Linked DNA regions of Homo sapiens: all the other regions are linked to region 3. Evidence: promoter capture Hi-C in 16 types of primary human blood cells and fetal thymus (Javierre and others, 2016). All regions are on one chromosome and are shown on one strand. Each heading gives the region's core, a stretch centred on a gene start or on the middle of the fragment in contact. The rest is flanking DNA. Distances are from core to core; before and after follow the strand shown. Region 1 has its middle 4.7 kb from the start of ZNF683. Region 2 overlaps DHDDS (dehydrodolichyl diphosphate synthase subunit). Region 3 holds the start of SLC30A2 (solute carrier family 30 member 2).

The links. Contacts are between HindIII fragments. The CHiCAGO score rates a contact against its expected background, and 5 or more counts as called.
Region 1: a fragment that was not itself captured here is called in contact with the fragment with the promoter of SLC30A2 in region 3 in 1 of 17 cell types (M0 macrophages); the score reaches 5.2 in M0 macrophages.
Region 2: a fragment that was not itself captured here is called in contact with the fragment with the promoter of SLC30A2 in region 3 in 1 of 17 cell types (M2 macrophages); the score reaches 5.8 in M2 macrophages.

What each region holds. Positions count from the first base shown.
Region 1 is chr1:26,375,366-26,379,561 of GRCh38, reverse strand. No RefSeq gene overlaps it. Among named protein-coding and RNA genes, the nearest start is that of ZNF683, 4.7 kb to the right of the region's middle. RefSeq lists an enhancer at 1,099-1,308 and a cis regulatory region at 631-1,524. The HindIII fragment of the contact is 2,591 bases long and covers 1,406-3,996 here.
Region 2 is chr1:26,448,558-26,453,092 of GRCh38, reverse strand. All of the region lies in intron 6 of DHDDS (dehydrodolichyl diphosphate synthase subunit), which reads right to left. Among named protein-coding and RNA genes, the nearest start is that of DHDDS-AS1, 17 kb to the left of the region's middle. The HindIII fragment of the contact is 666 bases long and covers 1,892-2,557 here.
Region 3 is chr1:26,043,340-26,047,817 of GRCh38, reverse strand. It overlaps SLC30A2 (solute carrier family 30 member 2), which reads left to right and starts at 1,700. Exons shown (of 8, transcript NM_001004434.3): 1 at 1,700-1,971; 2 at 2,601-2,821; 3 at 3,374-3,520; 4 at 4,267-4,420. The coding sequence starts at 1,922. RefSeq lists an enhancer at 2,101-2,669. The HindIII fragment of the contact is 10,541 bases long and covers 1-3,788 here.

The sequences.
Region 1 (4,196 bases), core at 1,452-3,951, 330 kb before region 3:
TTGAGTTGATACTACCTGGTATACCCTTGCTGAGTCTTGTCTGCTCATCCATAAAATGGAGACATTAAAAATTCCTACCTTGGAGAGTTTTTTTTTTTTTTTTTTTTTTTTTTTGAGATAAAGTTTCACTCTGTTGCCCAGGCTGGAGTGCAGTGGCAGGCACAATCATGGCTCACTACAGCCTTGACCTCCAGGGCTCAAGCAATTCTCCTGCCTCAGCCTCCCAGGTAGCTGGAACTACAGGCCCATGCCATCATGCCTAGTTATTTTTTGTAGGGAAGGGGGTCTTGCTATGTTGCCCGGGCTGGTCTCAAACTCCTGGGCTCAAGCTATCCTCCCACCTTGGCCTCTCAAATTGTTTGGACTACAGGTGTGAGCCGCCATGCCTGGCCAACTTGGAGAATTTTGAGGACGATTAAATAAGATGATCATAAAGAGATTTGGCATGTAGGAGGCATTGAGTAAATTTACCTCCTGCTTTTTCCTGGCTGCATAGTATTCTGATGCATGGATGTACATAATATGTAGCTTTCCTCTAATGGTAGACATATAGGTGGACTTTAATTTTGCCCCGTTCCACACCAGGCTGGAAAGGACATACATGTACATGGTGGGCAGTTTTGCACAGTGGCTCAGATTACATTAGCTCTGCTGGATTTGAATCCAAGCAAGGTGACCTCTTGTCTCCTATTCTCTTGGAATGGTTGAGGATAAGTGGCATGACCTTGGATATCATTTGAAGATGCATCTGCAATTTTACCCACAGAAGGATTGGAAGGTCACAGATGGGTGCAGGGGAAGACGCAAGAGTGTCTGTAGGCCCCTTCTGCAAATGTAAGAGCAGGCACGCCTTAACTCAAGATCTCTTCCCCACCTTGGGGTGTGAAGCCAAGGGCCAACTCAAATGCATCTGACAGACTGACAGCTGGGCTGTCTGGGGAGATAAGCATGTGGGTGTCAGGCAGAGGGAGGGAGGTGTCAACCACAGAGCAGAGCCAGGCAAGAGCACTGTCAGCCCCACCCTCAGCTCTGCCTGTGGAGGCACACCCTACAGCTGCTTAACCTCTAAGCCAGTGACGTCCCAGATCCCTTCCTGACCTGGGGTCCTTACCTGGTGCCTCTCAAAAGTGTCCATGTGACAGAGGTCCTGGACCCATGTGCTGAGCTGACTGGGAAGTCAGCTGGCTGGCCTCAAGGTTGGAGGTGGCAATGGATATGGGTTGAAGAAGTTTTTAAGGTTTTCAGGGAGGAAGTGGGGCTTCTGGCTGTGGTTCCGTTGTCTCCCTTTCTTGGTGCATGAGTCAGCCAACCCCACCCCCAGTTCTACTTTGCTCCTCCAGCCCCTACCCTCCTAATAATAAGCTCAGATGTACATTACTTTCCATTTCACAACATCCAGCAAGCTTCTTGATAGCCGGAATGTAATTCCAAGGTCTGAGTCATATTTCTATGGGCTGTATTCCCAGAAAATAGTCCAATGCCTGACACATAGCTGGTAATTAATAAATATGTGAATTACTTTGGGAGGCTGTTTGAGGGCAGGAGTTTGAGACTAGCCTGGTCAGCACAGCCAGACCCTGTCTCTACCAAAATACAACAAGAAAGAAAGAAAGAAAGAAAGAAAGAAAGAAAGAAAGAAAGAAAGAAAGAAAGAAAGAAAGGAAGGAAGAAAGAAAAGGCAAATAAATATGTGAATGAATGACGTTCTTGCAGGGTACCAGATGCTAATTCTGCAGCTCGTTTCAAGATGGCCTCTGTTTGTCTTAATTTTTCTGGGAGCCCCTTCTACCAAACATATTTGTGGCACTTTTTACTTCTTCAAATGCCTGGAAAGTCTTCCCTAAGCTCTCCCTCACCTCTGGGACTTACAACCTCAACTTGGGTCATGTGTTTCTTTTAAAATTGTATATATTTAAGATCTACAACATGATGTTTTGATACACATATGCTCAGTAAAGTGATTACTACAGTCAAGCAATTTAACACATCCATCACCTCACAGTTACCTTTTGTGTGTGTGTGCGGTAAAAGTACCTAAAATTACTTTTAGCAAATGTCTACTATATAATATTACTAACTATAATCCTCATGCTGTATGTTACAGCTCTAGACTTATTCATTCTAAGTAACTGCAACTTTGTACCCTTTGACCTTCATCTCCCATTTCCCTTACACCCCAGGCCCCTGCCCCTGGTAAAGACCTTTCTACTCTCTGTTTCTATGCTTTCCACTTTGGGGTCATGTGGTGTTTTTTGGTTTTTTTTTTTTGAGACTGAGTTTTGCTCTTGTCTCCCAGGCTGGAGTGCAATGGCACGATCTCAGCTCACTGCAACCTCCGCCTCCTAGGTTCAAGCGATTCTCCTGCCTCAACCTCTCAAGTAGCTGGGATTACAGGCACCCACCACCATGCCCGGCTAATTTTCGTATTTTTAGTAGAGACAAAGTTTCACCATGTTGGCCAGGCTGGTCTTGAACTCCTGACCTCAGGTGATCCACCCGCCTCGGCCTCCCAAAGTGCTGGGATTACAGGCATGAGCCACGCCCAGCCAGGTCATCTGATCTTAAGTGAGTCATTTTCCTTATCTGAGTGTCAGTTTTCTTGCCTCTAAAATGGGAATAATGGCATTCATCTCCCAGAGTCACTCTGCTGATCCAGTGAGACAAAGCGTGTGGAATGGCTTTGCATGGTTCCTGGCATATAATGAGGGCTCCCATGCCAAGAGCTATTATTATTGTGGTGTGTGGATGGGGTAGGAGAAGACTGCATTGAATGAGAGCAATGATCCCCAACCAGGGAAGGGTCAATAAATAAAGCAAGAAAACTAAATGTAGTTAATCTCTCCAATTGTGCTGCCCAAATTTCGATCTTCCAAAATGGGTCAGGAATAACCATCAAAATTTTAACACTTTTAAGAAGCTGACTTGCAGATGCTTGCCTAACTAGGTAAAGGGTAATGTACAATATAGTCATCCACATTGGTCAAGTGCTTGCTTTGGGCCAGGCACCATCCTAAGGGCTTTACATGGATTATCTTGAGGAAACCTGGAAATAATTCTATGAGGCAAGTGCTATTATTATCTCCATTTGACAGATGAGGAAAGATGCACAGAGAGGTTAAGTGATTTGCCATAAGTTTACCCAGTTGGGATTAAATCCAGCAGAGCTCGTATTCTTAACCATTCCGCATACTGACTCTGTCTGGAGGTCTTTTCCAGCCTTGTGTAGAAAGGGGAAAATTGGATCCCACCCGTATGTCCACCAACAGGGGAAGGCTACATATTAAGCACAACCCTGCAATGGAACATTATATAGTCAGGAAAAAGCAGGAGGCAGATAGGTATGTTCAGGGCATGAAATGATGCCCACAATGGATTATTAGAAAACCCAGAAGAGACTGGGCATGGTGGCTCCCAAAGTGTAATCCAGCACTTTGGGAGGCCAAGGTGGGTGGATCACTTGAGGTCAGGAGTTTGAGACCAGCCTGGCCAATGTGGTGAAACCCCGTCTCTACTAAAAATACAAAAAAATTAACTGGGCTTGGTGGCGCATGCCTGTAGTCCCAGCTTGAACAGGAGAATTGCTTGAACCCAGGAGGCAGAGGTTGCTAGTGAGCCAAGATCACACCACTGTACTCCAACCTGGGAGGCAGAGTCAGATTCTGTCTCAAAAAAAAAAAAAAAGAAAAGAAAAGAAAAGAAAACCCGGAAGAGCAATGTGCATCAATATATTCCCATGTTTGTATAAAACACAATTTAGCCTTTCAGCCCCTATGCTCAGGCCCACTCCAACACTGTGGAGTGTACTTTATTTTCAATAAATCCCTTCATTTCTTCGTTGCTTTGTTTCTGCTTTTTGTCCAATTCTTTGTTCAAGATGCCAAGAACCTGGACACCCCCCACCAGTGACATATTTTGGCCAGCCAGCCCGGAGGAAGGGCCGCTCAGGGAAAGAGAGCCCAGAAACCTGGCATACCAGCAAAAGGAGGCCATCAAGCTTCAGATGATCATGCAACAAAGGCTCCAGCCAGTCCAGGTGAAGACACCACCCCTGGCCATCAAGAAGCTACCCTGCCTCCACTAGACAGAACAAGGTGAGGGTTCCATGATCCCCAATAAGTAGGGACTACGCCCCATGCCAGCATGAAGCAGTCCCAGGAAAAAGACCATCGGTCCCTCTGCCTCCCGTGAAGATTTAC
Region 2 (4,535 bases), core at 975-3,474, 400 kb before region 3:
TCAGACAGGGTTTCACTCTGTTGTTCAGGCTAGAGAGCAATGGCGCAACCATAGCTCATTGCAGCCTCGACCTGCTAGGCTCAAGTAATCCTCCTCACTCAGCCTCCCAAGTAGCTACAGGTGTGTGCCAGCACACCCAGCTAACTGTTTTATTTTTGTAGAGACAGGGTCTTGCCGTGTTGCCAGGGCTGGTCTCAAACTCCAGGGCTCAAGCGATTTTCCTGCCTCAGCCTCCCAAAGTCCTGGGATTACAGGCATAAGTCACCATGTCCATCTAATTTTTTTCTTTTTTACTGCCTTATTGTTCATTTCAGCTTTGCTATGAGGAAGTCAATATGCCACAGTGAATGAGAACACAGGCTCTGAAGCCAGGTTGAAATCTTGGCCCCCAGGTTTGCCAACTATGTGAACTTGCACAAGTTACTTTTCCTCTCCATGTCTCAGTATTCTCATCTTTAAAATGGGCATAAAAACAGTATCTACCTTATAGGGTCTAAGGATAAATGTATGTGGAATACTTAATGCTTGGAACAGAGTAAATGCTCAGTAAGTGTTAGCAATTACTATTAACACTATTGTTTTATAAGAAAGACAGAGGCCTACAGGGAATCAAGTAGCCCGTTCAAGGTAACACGGTGGAATAGAATTTATTAACTATCCTTTGGTCTCAATCTACTTCCTTCTTCTATAATTTCCAGACTCACAAAACAATCTATTAATTTAACTGCTAAAAAAATACATATATACCTCGGTCAGGTGCCGTGGTTCAAACCTGTAATCCCAGCACTTTGGGAGGCCAAGGCAGGAGGATCACTTGAGCCCAGGAGTTTGAGACCAGCCTGGACAACATGGCAAGACCCTGTCTCTACAAAGTCAAAAAATTAGCCAGATGTGGTAGCAGTATCTGTGGTCCCAGATACTCAGGAAGCTGAGGTGGAAGGATCTCTTGAGCCCAGGAGGTCTAGGCTGCAGTGAGCCATGTTCATACCACTGCACTTCAGCCTCAGCAACAGAGTGAAACCCTGTCTCAAAAACAAAACGAAACAGGCCAGGTGCTATGGCTCACACCTATAATCCCAGGACTTTGGGAGGCCAAGGTGGGCAGATCACTTGAGGTCAGGAGTTCGAGATCAGCCTGGTCAACATGGTGAAATCCCATCTCTACTAAATATACAAAAAATAGCCGGGTGTGATCCCAGCACTTTGGGAGGCCGAGGCAGGCAGATCACGAGGTCAGGAGATCGAGACCATCCTGGCTAACATGGTGAAACCCGTCTCTACTAAAAATATAAAAAAATTAGCCAGGCGGGGTGGCAGGCGCCTGTAGTCCCAGTTACTCAGGAGGCTGAGGCAGGAGAATGGCGTGAACCCGGGAGGCAGAGGTTGTAGTGAGCTGAGATTGTGCCACTGCACTCCAGCCTGGGCGACAGAGCGAGACTCTGTCTCAAAAAAAAAAAAAAAGAAAAAAAAATAGCCGGGTGTGGTGGTGTGCACCTATAATCCTGGCTACTCAGGAGGCTGAAGCACGAAAACTGCTTGAACCTATAAGGTGGAGGTTGCAGTGAGTTGAGAGCGTGCCACTGCACTTCACCCTGGGCAACAGAGCAAGACTCCATCTCAGAAAAACAAAAAAACAAAAATACACACACACACACACACACACACACACACACACACACACACACACATCTACATACATACCCTGGAAGAAAGAAAAATGAGGAGTTGGATGGTGATAGTGAGAAATCAGGAAAATTCCAGCTATTAGAAGCATAGGACCTAATTGTAATTAACGCACTGACTTTGTTATAAATGCAGGTTTGTCTAAATTCGAATAATATAAAGTGTAACGCCTCAGGCCCTGATTAGCCCAGTCTGAGCACACCAAGCTTCAGGAGTTGGTGGGTTGAGACATTGGCCTCCTGACCCTGGTGATACTGCCCAACCCACACCCTGTCTGCATAACTAACCCCACAGAGGCAAGTTACTAAACCATGCAGGACAGAGAAGGATATGGAAAAACTTGCTGGACAAGAAGCAGGAGATAAGGTAGTGGTTACTGTAATGTGGTATGAGGGTAAAGCATGCTGGACTAGGAGTCAAGATCAGAGTCCTAGGCATAATGCATATTAGATCTGCTTGTCAAATGGCTTTCTTTCATTCTAGTGTCAACCCTTGTGCCTTAATATTTATTTCATACATACAAGAATATTTGAAACATATTCATTATAAAGCACAAAAATATAATGAACTACGAAAGTACCTCCAAACTAAGAATTTTATTGAAAACATGCTTCTATTTCTATACCCCTTTTCTGTCTCATCTTCCTGCCTGCTCTCTACCTCTGCTAACTCCACCAGTCTCTTAATTGTTTTAACAACAGCTGATTTTCACTCTACATCTTAATTGACCTCTCTACAGCATTTGACACCATTGTTTCCATGGGTGCCCTACCCCTTCCCAACTTGCACCAACAAACTCCCTCTTTTCTTGGCTTATGTAATGCTGGCTGCCCTGGTTTTCTTCCTGCTTTTCTGTGTTTTTGCTTATAAAGCTTATTCTCCTCTACCCAGCCAGTAAAGGGTAGAGTTCCTCAAAAATGCCATCTTAGGCTCTTTCTTCTTCTCACTCTACACTCCTTAACAGGCAGGGCTGAGTGGCTCACACCTGTAATCTCAGCATTTTGGGAGGCCAGGGCAAGAAGACCACTTGAGGCCAGGAGTTCAAGACCATCCTGGGCAACAAAGTCAGACCCTGTTTTTACAAAAAATAAATATAAAAAGTTAGCTGGGTAGGTGGTGCACGTCTGTAGTACTGGGTACTTGAGAGGCTCCTTTGAGACCAGGAGTTCCAAGCTTCAGTGAGCTTTGATTGCCCCACTGCACTCCAGCCCAGGAGACAGTGTGAGACCATCTCTAAATAGATAAATACACAGATAGACAGACAGACTCTCCTTAGCTTTCTCATCCCCTCTTTGCTCAAGTTAACCTATACACAGATGGCTTCCATACTGGCGACAGAGATAAACCCTGTCTGAACTGTTGACCTGACATCTCTGTCTGACTGTTGACCTGACTATACCAATCCCTCGCTGAACTGTTGACCTGACATCTCTGTTCAACATGTACAGGATATCCAAAACCAAACTGCTGACCCTTTTCAACTGGATTTTCTCTCAGGGTTACCTAGCATGGTGAAGGGCACCACTATCCACTGTAACGTAAGTCTAAAACCGCCGGGCGCGGTGGCTCACGCCTGTAATCCCAGCACTTTGGGAGGCCGAGGTGGGCGGATTACCTGAGGTGGGGAGTTTGAGACCAGCCTGGCCAACATAGTGAAACCCCGTCTCTACTAAAAATACAAAAATTAGCTGGGCATGGTGGCATGCCCCTGTAATCCCAGCTACTCAGGAGGCTGAGGCAGAAGAATCGCTTGAGCCCAGGAGGCGGAGGTTGCAGTGAGCCGAGATTGTACCATTGCATTCCAGCCTGGGCAAGAGTGAGACTCTGTCTCCAAAAAAAGAATTAGCTGAGCATGGTGGCACACACCTGTAGTCCCAGCTACTTGGAAGGCTGAAGTGGGAGGACTGCTTGGGCCCGGGAGGCACAGACTACAGTGGGCCGAGATCACACCACTGCACGCCAGCCTGGGCGATAGAGTGAGTCCCTGTCTCAAAATAAAAATAAAAATGGGCCAGGAGTGATGGCTCATGCCTGGAATCTCAGCACTTTGGGAGGCTGAGGCAGACAGATCACTTGAGGTTGGGAGTTCAAGACCAGCCTCGCCAACATGGTGAAACCCCGTCTCTACTAAAAAATACAAAAAATTAGCTGGGCACGGTGGTGGGCGCCTGTAATCCCAGCTACTTGGGAAGCTGAGGTGGAAGAATTGCTGGAACCTGGGAAGCGGAGGTTGCAGTGAGCCAAGATCTCGCCATTGCACTCCAGCCTGGAGACAGAGCGAGACTCCATCTCAAAAAAATAAATAAAATAAAAAATAAAAATAAATAAATAAAAATAAAATATTTGTTGAATGAATGAACTATGTGACAGAGAAATGTCACCCAGCTGTTAGGAAGGAGAGGCATTCATAAAATAGCCTCAAAAACTGTCTCCTCTCCTTTTTATCTAATTCTATTCTCACCAAGTAACTTTTTGATTTTTAATCTAGTTTCCTAGGTCAATCGAATCGGGAAGGGAACCAGAAAAATTCCTGCTTCCCAAGATCCCACATAATAGAGGTAAAGGATAAGAACCCTAAAATCAAACAGCTTTAGATATGAGTCCCAGCTCTGGCACTTACTAGTAGAGTGACCCTGGGCAAGTCACTTCAATGCTGAACTCAGTTTTCTCATCTACACAATGGACAACAGCCTTGAATCTCTCACACATAAGGTTAATGACTTAATGAAATACAGAACACAACACATCTCCTGGGTTATTTTTTGCTACTATTATTTTACTATTGCTGTTAGTTTACAAATATATTAAAAGTTACATAAATAATAACATGAGAGGGACCAAATATTTAAATG
Region 3 (4,478 bases), core at 451-2,950:
CAGGACCAGCCTGGCCAACATGGTGAAACCCTGTCTGTACTAAAAATACAAAAATTAGCTTGGCATGGTCGTGGGCACCTGTAATCCCAGCTACTCAGGAAGCTGAGGCAGGAGAATCACTTGAATCCGGGAAGCAGAGATTGCAGTGAGCTGAGATTGCAGTCGAGCCTGGGCGACAGAGACAGAAATGAAACTCTGTCTCAAAAACAAACAAACAAAAAAACCACTATACATAAAAATGAACAATGATGCCACAATAGCACCAGAGAATTTTATAAATACAGATTCCCAGGCCCTGCCCCAGACCTACTGAATCCTGGAAATATTCAGGCTCCACACCCAGAGATTCTGGTTCGGTTGGTCTGATGCAGGGACCTGTAACCTGCGTTGTAACACCTTCTCCAGGTAATGCTGAGCCTGCTGGTGCTCAGAGTAGACAGACCTGGAGAAAACCAGGGTGTCTGAGGTTTTCCAGAAGAAAACCAGAGTCCAGAGAAGCAGAGAGGCACTCAGTGAGGACCCAAGCAGAGCGGGTGCACCTCACATCCTCACTCCTGGCACCCCGTCTCCTACAAGATGAGAGACTGAAAGAGCCCCTTCCTGTCCCCAGTGGTGTGGGCAAGAGGCCTGCACCTCTGACTCTTGGCTCTGTGAAAGGCCATACCCACCAAGCCTATGGTCCTAGCGACAAAGGGTGCTGGGGAGACGAATTGACCAGACAGGGAGGTCTCCAGCAGCTTCTTTCTACACAGAGGGCACCTGTCAGAGGCCAGCGTGGGGGCCACAGGCTCCCCAATCCCCAAGAACCGCCAGGGAAGGAGGCTGCTTCAAGTGGGTGGGGCACCAAGCTGGCCAGGAAGGACAGGGCTTCTCCCAGCGGTACCAACACGGTGGCACCTCCGGCCTGCATCTCCCAGGCTTGCTTGTCAGGCTTCCTGGGGCTCCCAGGAGCCGCTGCGGGGGAGGGGAGAAGGGGTGGCAGCAGTGGCAGTGGTCGTCTCTGCTCCGATGGTGACTGCCGATGACACTGTTCTCTGTGCGGGTGGAGACAAAGCCGGCCACTCCAGATTCTCCTGCGCGCAGGAGAGGAGGAGCTGGCGCTGCTTCAGTGGCGAGGATGGGTCGATCAGTCCCAGCCGGTCCTAGGGAGAGACACTGCCCCAGCCTGAGGGCGGCGCAGCCCACCCCACCCCAGGACCCTCCTAGCAGGAGGACAGGAACGCAAGCCGACCTCGGGGGGTCTCCGGCCTGAGAGGGGAACATGATCAAGCCCAGGGCAGCCGCCAGTCGGAGGGGGCAGACGCGGCCCCAGTAGCCTCTGGAGACCCTCTTCCGAGGCAAGGAGCCACATTCCTGCCGTCGGGACCACCAAAGCGGATTTCTACAAACTAAAGTCGAGAACTTTTCGGCGGCGAGGCGGCGCACCCCGCGCGGGAGAGGGGGCGCAGGCGTCACCCCGTCCTCACTCAGCAACACCCGGCGCCGCGCCGGGCGAAGGCTGGCAAACTTCTCGCGGCCGGCAGGTGGGCTCCGCGGGCCCCATGGGCGCAGGCACAGGTGTGCGGGGCCACAGCCGGGCCTTTTGCAGCCGGCGACCGCCCCCCCTTCCCCGCGGGCTTTTGCACACGACGCGCCGACGGCAGCTTCACACGGGTTGGCGAGGGCCGGATAAAGCCGGCGGCCGCGGGGCGCAGCGGCTGACCCGAGACACGGGAGCGCTTGGCACGCGGAGCCAGAGCCGGAGCTGCAGCCGCAGCGGGAGCCGGGGGAGCTCAGGGGCCGCAGGAGCCGGGCCGGAGTGAGCGCACCTCGCGGGGCCCTCGGGGCAGGTGGGTGAGCGCCACCCGGAGTCCCGCGCGCAACTTTCAGGGCGCACTCGGCGGGGCGGCTGCGCGGCTGCCGGGACTCGGCGCGGGACTGCATGGAGGCCAAGGAGAAGCAGCATCTGTTGGACGCCAGGCCGGCAATCCGGTAAGGCGAGAGCCTGGGGACGGGCGGGAATTTTGGCGGCAGCCGACGCACCTCCGCATTTGCCATCCTAGCAGTGGTTGGTTTTGGCTGCGGCTTGAGCTGGGACCATGCAGGAGGGGTGGGGTGAGGTGAGGGAACGAAGATAATGGGCTGTGGCCCAAGGACCGTCTCTCCCTTGGGGCGCAGCCCAGATTCTGACCCCTGCCCGCGGGGGGCCTGGGGCCGGGGGATTGGCGGTTCCCATGCCTGGAGTCCCGCCCCGCCCAGCACTTTGCCCCAGGCAGCCCCGCCCCGGGGAGGCCCTGTGTCCCAAGTGCGCTGGAGGGGGCCTGCTGTTCTCCCAGAGCCTGCGCTCTGTTCCTTCCCCGCGCTCCACTGGACAGCACGCCCCTTGGCCGGTTCCCAGGGTCTTCACCTCCTCTGGCCTCTGAAGGGCCCCGGGCCCCAGGACTCCCATTCCCCTATCATCCCCGTCTGAATACAGGCTTCTCACCTCTGGTTTGTCGAGCTCGGAGCGTCCTTAGCTATTTTTCCCAGTGGACACAAGGCCTCACAGAGAAATGGGACTAGAGTCGGCCCTCCTTACCTCATCTCAGAGCTGAGCGTTCCCTCTCTTCCCCTCTGGCCAGGTCATACACGGGATCTCTGTGGCAGGAAGGGGCTGGCTGGATTCCTCTGCCCCGACCTGGCCTGGACTTGCAGGCCATTGAGCTGGCTGCCCAGAGCAACCATCACTGCCATGCTCAGAAGGGTCCTGACAGTCACTGTGACCCCAAGAAGGGGAAGGCCCAGCGCCAGCTGTATGTAGCCTCTGCCATCTGCCTGTTGTTCATGATCGGAGAAGTCGTTGGTAAGCACTTTTGGGCTAATTAAATGAAGTTGGTGCATGGATAGACTGGATGTTCCCAGCAATACTGACACTAAAAGCCCCAATTACTGAACACACACTACAGTAAGCCTTTATATACACATTATCTGATGCAGGTCTAACAACAACCTGTGTTCTCACATGGGTGACGTTATTCTCCTTACTTTACAGATGATGAAACTGAGGCATGTTCAGGTGAAGTAACTTGCCAAAGATCACGCACAACTCGTAGCTAAGGGAAGGCCTGAATTCCTAGAAGGGAAGAGCATTTACTGAGTATCTGCTATGTTTTCCAGTCCCTATTTGAACTTGATGTGCACATTCACCCTCTAAGTAGATATTGGTGGCCCATTTCACAGAGAGTGGAAGTTGAGGCTCAGAGAGAGTAGGTCACTTGTCACGGTGGTACAGCTCATGGGTAGAGAGATCTTGAGCCCAGAATGTCCTCTTCCAGAGCCTGTGGTCTCCCTGCTGCACACACAGTCTTGGGAGCCAGCTCTCTGGGGGAGCTGATAAGGACCCTCCACCCTGCAGGTGGGTACCTGGCACACAGCTTGGCTGTCATGACTGACGCAGCACACCTGCTCACTGACTTTGCCAGCATGCTCATCAGCCTCTTCTCCCTCTGGATGTCCTCCCGGCCAGCCACCAAGACCATGAACTTTGGCTGGCAGAGAGCTGGTGAGGATCGCGGTTTGGCTGGAGATGGGGTTGAGAGAGAGGGTGGGTTAGAACAGGGGTTCTTAGGTGGCTGTAATGGGTGGATCCCCCCTTCCTCCCCTGAGTGAGGCCAGGAGGGTGATCTGGATGGGGGAAGAGGATGTCAACCATGGCCTCTGTCCTCTGGGAAATCCTAGTCTGATGGGGGAGCCCTGGTCCCAGTCATCCAGGAGCTCTCAGTCTGCAGGGAAGCAAAGTTGACCTTCCTAAGAAGTGCAGTAGCCAAGCTTCAAGAACAAATGACAATGGCATTAACACTGCACATAACTCTGTGGATCAGCTCTGGGGGGAGGGGAAGGCCAGCAAAGGCTGCTGGAAGATATAGGCTTTAACCTCTCTTCCGTTCACCCTGGACTGCATCGTCACCTTCCTCTTTGTGGGAGATGGCCCAGCCTGTCTTCCCCAGAAGCCTCAGTTTACTAGCTGAACAAAAGGCACATACTTTAATAAGTCAGCTTCTTTACATGTACAACCAAAAAGGTGGACTCAGATGATGACTTATTAGTTCCTTCTAGCTCTTACATTCCTAGATATATGAGGGGTGGGGTAAGGGGCAGCCATACCGGCCATACCTTCAGCAGAGCCCAGTGGGACCCAGGCCCTGACTTTGTGTGGGAGGTGGGTGGGGAGGATCCTGAAGGAAGGGGGAAGACTCCTTAGCTCCAGGCCCATGCCAAGGTGGGTGTTGGGGTTGGGTTCTTCCTCAGAGATCTTGGGAGCCCTGGTCTCTGTACTGTCCATCTGGGTCGTGACGGGGGTACTGGTGTACCTGGCTGTGGAGCGGCTGATCTCTGGGGACTATGAAATTGACGGGGGGACCATGCTGATCACGTCGGGCTGCGCTGTGGCTGTGAACATCATGTGAGTGGGGCCCCAGTTTCCCTCGTCTCCCCTCCTCCTCCCGCCTCTCACACCCACA